2 separate regions of the Homo sapiens genome follow, and region 1 is linked to region 2. Evidence: promoter capture Hi-C in 16 types of primary human blood cells and fetal thymus (Javierre and others, 2016). All regions are on one chromosome and are shown on one strand. Each heading gives the region's core, a stretch centred on a gene start or on the middle of the fragment in contact. The rest is flanking DNA. Distances are from core to core; before and after follow the strand shown.

Region 1 (3,188 bases), core at 334-2,833, 390 kb after region 2:
GTGGACACCATCTAATCAGCTGCCAGCAGGGCCCGAACAAAAGCAGGCAGAAGACCGTGGAAAGACTAGACTGGCTTAGTCTCTGCGCCTACATCTTTCTCCTGTGCTGAATGCTTCCTGCCCTCAAACATCAGACTCCAAATTCTTCAGCTTTGGGACTCTTGGACCTTTGACCACAGACTGAAGGCTGCACTATTAACTTCCCACTTTTGAGGTTTTGGGACCTGGACTGGCTTCCTTGCTCCTCAGCTTGCAGACGGCCTATTGTGGACCTCACCTTGTGATCGTGGGAGTCAATGCTCCTTAATAAACTCCCCTTATATATACATCTATCCTATTAGTTCTGTCCCTCTACAGAACCCTGACTAATCCACCATCTCTACAAAAAATAATACAAAAAATTAGCCGGGTGTGGTAGCAGGCGCCTGTGGTCCCAGCTACTTGGGAGGCTGAGGTGGAAGAATCGCTTGAACCGGGAGGTGGAGGCTGCAGTGAGTTGTGATTGCACCAGTGCACTCCAGCCTAGGAGACAGAGCGAGACTCCATCTCAAAAAAGAAAAAAAAAAAAAAGGCAAGCTCACGAGGCAGCACCCTGCTGCCCGTGCTGTCTCATGTGCCTTGGCTCTCAATATCTCTCCCGCCCTCTCCCCCGAATAGTGTTTGTCCTTATGAAAGCAAAAGAGGAAGGAGAGCCAGAAAGCTTGATTCTGGAAAATTCCTCTCAAAGTCTTGAAAACAAGGGGAGGGGTAGAGTAGAAAAAGAGCAGGATGTTGGAACCCGCAACCTTGCCACATTAAGTAGTGACGGGCCTCACCTCCCCAAAGGAGATCACCATCTGCCATGAGAATAAGTGAATGGAAAATGGACTGAGAAACTCACGTATCACACCACCTTGGCTCTGCCAGAGCAGCCAGGACAGTAGCCCGAATTCTCCCTTCTCTGCCTCGCCACACACAATGGCCCCTAACTCCCACCTACCTTCTCCCCCAAGAGAATTCTGCGGGGAGCCCCCCGAATACTCTCTGCTGGCAGTTGTGATCCTCCTGGAAGTGAACCACGTTTATCTGCATTCTCTTACCAGTTTGCTTGGTGACTCAGTCTCCCTGGGTACACTGCCAAAACCAACTTCTAGAGGAAAGTCTGAGTCCTGGGCCGCAGTGACCCCATGCAGACATGGCCAGCCACCTAGGAGGCATGTCAGGGTTGCAGGGGCCCTTGAACACTTGGATCTTGCTTGTTTTCATGCTTAGCCATGGAACTATGTCCTAGAACATGAGTAGCTTTGTTTCTTGCCAGACAATTCCTCAGTATTGTGCAGACCCAGACACAACAAGATGAAGAAAACTCTAGACGTCTGTGAGGCCCAGATAAACCCGATGGAACAGCCCTGGGCAAAGCCCCATTCAGGGTAGGGGAAACATGGCCACTACTAATGCCTAAACCACCCCACCCCATGTCTCCTCTCTAAGGGTCTTCTATGACCCTGACACCATCTTCTTCCAAAGCGTGGATGAAAAAGGAACAGGAGGCGAGCGCAGTGGCTCACGCCTGTAATCCCAGCACTTTGGGAGGCTGAGGCAGGCAGATCACTTTAGCTCAGGAGTTCAAGACCAGACTGACCAATGTGGTGAAACCCCATCTCTATAAAAATACAAAAATTAGCCAGGTATGGTAAGAGGTGCCTGTAATCCCAGCTACTCGGGAGGCCAAGGCAGGAGAATAGCTCGAACCTGGGAGGCGGAGGTTGCAGTGAGCCGAGATTGCGCCACTGCATTCCAGCCTGGGTGATAGAGCAAGACTCAGTCTCAAAAAAAAAAAAAGAAAAAAGAAAAGAAACAGGAGCAAAAGCCCATCCTTGCCATGAGAAGAGTGTTGGTGTTCTATGCCCTTCACAGAGTGAAGCTCTAAGTGCAGCACCAGGCAAACTGTGCAAAGGGACAAATCAGGTGGTCACTCCAAGGCCCTTGAAAGCTCTTGGGCCAGCTTCCCACTGAATCCACAAACCCCTGTTGAAGAGTCCTGGGATCCTCAGCTTAGACCTCTGGCTCTTTGGCTCCAAGCTGTTTGCTCCATTATCAGATGGCGCTACTGGCTAGAAAGACATTGCTTACACTAAGCTGAGTTGATCTTCCTGGAAATGCCCCCTTGTCTCTTTCTGTTGCTGCACATGGGTTAAGCCTGCATCCCCCTCCAACAACAGGTGCTCGCCCTTAAATGTTTGAAAGCAGCTGTCACGTCCCATTGAAACAGGCATCCTTCAGGCTAAGGAGCCCGCTCCTAGACTTTAGCGCAGCGGAAACATAGTTTTCAAAAGTCTGTGCAATTCACCAAAGAGTGAGTTCATCTTGTGATGTCAAGAGCTGAATTAATCAGGGACTCAAGAAGCAATTCCAGGGAACCTCTGCATATCTAGGTTTAGAGACTCAACCGTGATGAACCAGGCTTGTCTTATCTCCAAAGCTTTTATCCAATAGGAATGGGAGGGCAAGACAGTGACTGCGGTAGGTGGCTGGGGACGTGGCTTGGGAGTTAGGAACCCCAACCTGGTTTCTGACCCTCTCTACACCTCGTCTAGACCTCTGCTCCCTTATCTGTCTAAGCATCTCTTCCACTTCCCAAATGGCAGACACCAATGGTTCCCATTGTTCTCAATGAAATACAAATATTAATAGAAACTGTCAGGCCTCTGAGCCCAAGCTAAGCCATCATATCCCCAGTGACCTGCACATATACATCCAGATGGCCTGAAGCAACTGAAGATTCACAGAAGTGAAAATCGACTTAACTGATGATATTCCACCATTGTGATTTGTTTCTGCCCCAACCTAACTGATCAATGTACTTTGTAATCTCCCCCACCCTTAAGAAGGTTCTTTACAATCTCCCCCACCCTTAAGAAGTTTCTTTGTAATTCTCCCCACCCTTGAGAATGTACTTTCTGAGATCCACCCACTGCCCCCAAAACATTGCTCTTAACTCCACCGCCTATCCCAAAACCTATAAGAACCAATGATAATCCCACCACCCTTTGCTGACTCCTTTTTTGGACTCAGCCCGCCTGCACCCAGGTGAAATCAACAGCCTTGTTGCTCACATAAAGCCTGTTTGGCAGTCTCTCCACACGGACACCTGAGACAGAAACCTGAGAGTAATCACTGGACTACAGGCAACTTAGAAACAGGGACAG
Region 2 (3,193 bases), core at 586-3,085:
ATGGATGGCAGTCTGAACTAGGGAAGCTTCTGTTTTGTAGTTTGCAGAAAGAATCTGCATGGGGATCACTGCTTAAGCTTTGCCTCTTTGTTTCCAGACACAGACGCACTTTCCTGCCTAATTTCCATAGCAAATACCCAATGAGCGCCTACTGTATGCCAGGTTCTGATGATGTCAGAGTGAGCCAGCACTTCCGAGGTACTGGCCACTCTCAAACCTCCTGGCTAGGATCTTCCAAGAGCTACAGCCTCTGGCCTGAGGGTCAGTCCAATGCTGTTAGATATTGACAAATGCGGGGCTAATTTTAATGGAATATAGTTTTATCCTTAAAAGGTGTGTGTGTTTTGGCTTTATTTGGGTTCATATAGATTAGGGGCATCATCATAACTCGCTTCCTAGTGCAGACCTGAGTGATTTAATCAAGTCTTGAAACACTTCGGGGCCTCAGTTTTTCATCTGCCTTCCCAACCTCTGAGGTTCTTTTTAGTTGACATCCTACATTCCCATGATCAGAAGGCTGCTAATTCAACTTTTGGCTTTTGTTAAACCTTTTTTTTTTTTGAGGCAGAGTTTTGCTGTCACCCAGACTGCAGTGCAGTGGTGAGATCTCAGCTCACTGCAACCTCCTCCTCCCAGGTTCAAACGATTCTCCTGCCTCAGCCTTCTGAGTAGCTGGGATTACTGGCACGTGCCACAACACCCAGCTAATTTTTGTATTTTTAGGAGAGACACGATTTTGCCATGTTGGCCAGGCTGGTCTCAAACTCCCAGCCTCAAGCGATCCACCCGCCTCAGCCTCCCAAAGTGCTGGCATTACAGGCATGAGCCACCGCACCTGGCCTGTTTTGTTTTGTTTTAATCGTTTTTAATGTCTCTCTCAAAACAAGAAAAGAAAAAAGGACAAAAAATTACTATTTTACTTCTCAGATTAATCTGATCTTAGTACACTACAGCAACAAAAGTCTTAATCAAGTACGTTTTAATTATTTGGTGTCATCATTGCAAGGAAACCATTCAGTAAGAATATTAGTAACCAGACATATAATTTTCTAACCTGAATGAGAAATTAGTTACATGGAGTATAGAAAAAGAAACCACCCCGTTTATCCTCCCTGTGACCATCATTAGTATTACCCGCAAGGCATAAAAAGTCCTAAAATGACACGCACGGCGGCAACATTACCTTTGCAGCTTCAAGCACAGTAAAGTTGAAAGCAGTCCCACCTTGGCAATTGTGTATAAAACGACAATGTGCAGATACAGGAAAAGTCCCAGGTCCGAAGCCACCTAGGAACGATGACCCCAGGACAGAAGTGTGCCCAAACAAATGCCTGGGGTAGGTCATTTTAAAAGGAACAATGTTTACAAGCCCTTTCTAGCGTGAAAAACAGAGAAAAGAGACCCAGCTCTTTCCACCCAATCTGCTGGAGCGCCGTTTCGTTTTCAGTTGGGCGAGAGGGAGACATGTGGCCTCTCGCCCCTTTTCCTGACTCTGAGAATGTGGCCGGAGCCGGGGCGCTCCTGCTCCGCCTCGCCGCCCTCCCGGGGCTGTCCTGGGCCCTCCGGCCGCCGCCTCCCGCTCCAGTTCGCAGCTGGGCGACAAGTGGCTGGTAAGGAGGCCAGGGGCGGGAGCCTGGGCGCGGGACCGGGGGCGCACGGCGGGGGACCGAGCGCGCGTCCCTGGCTAGAGGTGCCGGGTCCCGGGAGGCCGGGCTGGCGGGGAGGCTGGCGAGCGCCCCCTGGCGGGCACCGCCTTCTAGGCGCACCCGCAGTGCGCCGGGCCCGCCAGCCCCGCCAGCCCCGCCAGCCCCGCCAGCCCCGCCAGTCCCCGCGCAGTCCCCGCGCAGTCCCCGCGCAGTCCCAGCGCCACCGGGCAGCAGCGGCGCCGTGCTCGCTCCAGGTAGGGCCCCGCGCCCCGCGCCGCCGCCGGGAGGGAGCGGGCTGGAGGGGCCGAGACCCGTGGCGAGAAGGGCTACCCGGGCCCCTCGGAGAGCCTCCGGGAAGGGGTGAGGGCTGCCGGGTGAGCAGGCGGAGTAGGAAATGGAACCAAGCGGGCGCAAGAGCGCACCGGGAAGAATTTCCCCGCTGGGTTTCTGGGACGCAGGTCGCACGGGATGCGGGATGCTGGCGACCTTAGCCGGGTGGGGGCCGCCGGCCTGGGGGCGCTTCCTCCTTTCTTCTCCCTTTTCCTTCTCACCTGAACGAAAGGGGGCCTGCGGGGAGGGAAGAAGGTGGAAAGTTTTTGTATTCTTGGTAAAAAAAAAAAAAAAAAATGCGTGAGGAAACATGTTTTCTGGAGATGGTATCCTGTCCACAGGGGAGCATAACCCCTTTTCTGGGAATGTATTGGAGCACGGACGGGGGTGCCATTGCTCAGGCTTCTAAACAAGCCAAGTTTCTGGTCAAGGGCCTGGGGGAGGGGGAGGCAGGTCTTTGAAAGATACCAAAAAAAAAAAAAAAAGAAAAATCTGCGTGCTCATTCCTGTAGCCTCAAGTGAGGTTATTCCCCAGCTTTGAGGGCCAGGTTAACCAAGCAAAGTTTGTGCAATAAAGTATCTTTGTGGTATTGGATTTTCGAGAGCCACCGTTATCAATGGGAGAGTGACTGTTGAATGCTACAGGCGTGTGCACTCCCCCGTGGGCATGAAGAGAGGTCCACGGGCTGGCTGGATTGGGAGACTCCGGTCATTTCTGCAAGGAGAGCGCCACAGGACTGCCTTGTTCCCTGGGCTGTCCTGCCCCTGTGCGGGCTGGACGTGGTGCTATAAAAGATGATTCAGGAGTGGCACAGGCTGAGGGGGACTAGGCTGGAGAAGGTGGAGGGAAGAGGGAGCACTCCGTGCCCTCTTCCTGTCCATGGGAAATGAACCATCTGTGCCTGGTGTCCAAGTCCTTGACGTTCCAGTTGCCCTTTGAGAGCACACCTCAAGCCTGCTGAATTCTTTTAAGAACCACCTACAAGATCTGAGAAGTCCGCCCATGCTTTCTGTCAACTCCGGCCTCTTTGACCTTTTCTTTTGCCAAAGAAAATTCTAAACCACTGGGATTCGTGAGGCTCCGTGAGAGAGGCAAGAAGCCTGGAGGGTCCACTCCGTTGCTCTTTTCCCTTGGTTTGCTCCCTAGAAGCCATGGTCCCCACTGGGCCCTTCTTGCCCGAGGCTGTGTGATAGACAAGCCCTATTCCTAAGGTCCT

The links. The method cuts DNA at HindIII sites, captures the fragments that hold promoters and counts their contacts. A CHiCAGO score of 5 or more calls a contact.
Region 1: a fragment that was not itself captured here is called in contact with the fragment with the promoter of PRKCQ in region 2 in 1 of 17 cell types (non-activated CD4 T cells); the score reaches 5.0 in non-activated CD4 T cells.

What each region holds. Positions count from the first base shown.
Region 1 is chr10:6,193,511-6,196,698 of GRCh38, reverse strand. It overlaps a transcript of PFKFB3 not described here. Among named protein-coding and RNA genes, the nearest start is that of PFKFB3-AS1, 7.7 kb to the left of the region's middle. The HindIII fragment of the contact is 1,761 bases long and covers 703-2,463 here.
Region 2 is chr10:6,578,918-6,582,110 of GRCh38, reverse strand. PRKCQ (protein kinase C theta) reads left to right here and starts at 1,835. Exons shown (of 18, transcript NM_006257.5): 1 at 1,835-1,900. It overlaps PRKCQ-AS1 (PRKCQ antisense RNA 1), which reads right to left and starts at 1,686. Exons shown (of 2, transcript NR_036503.1): 1 at 1,184-1,686. RefSeq lists silencers at 1,424-1,573, 1,584-1,833. The HindIII fragment of the contact is 7,587 bases long and covers 80-3,193 here.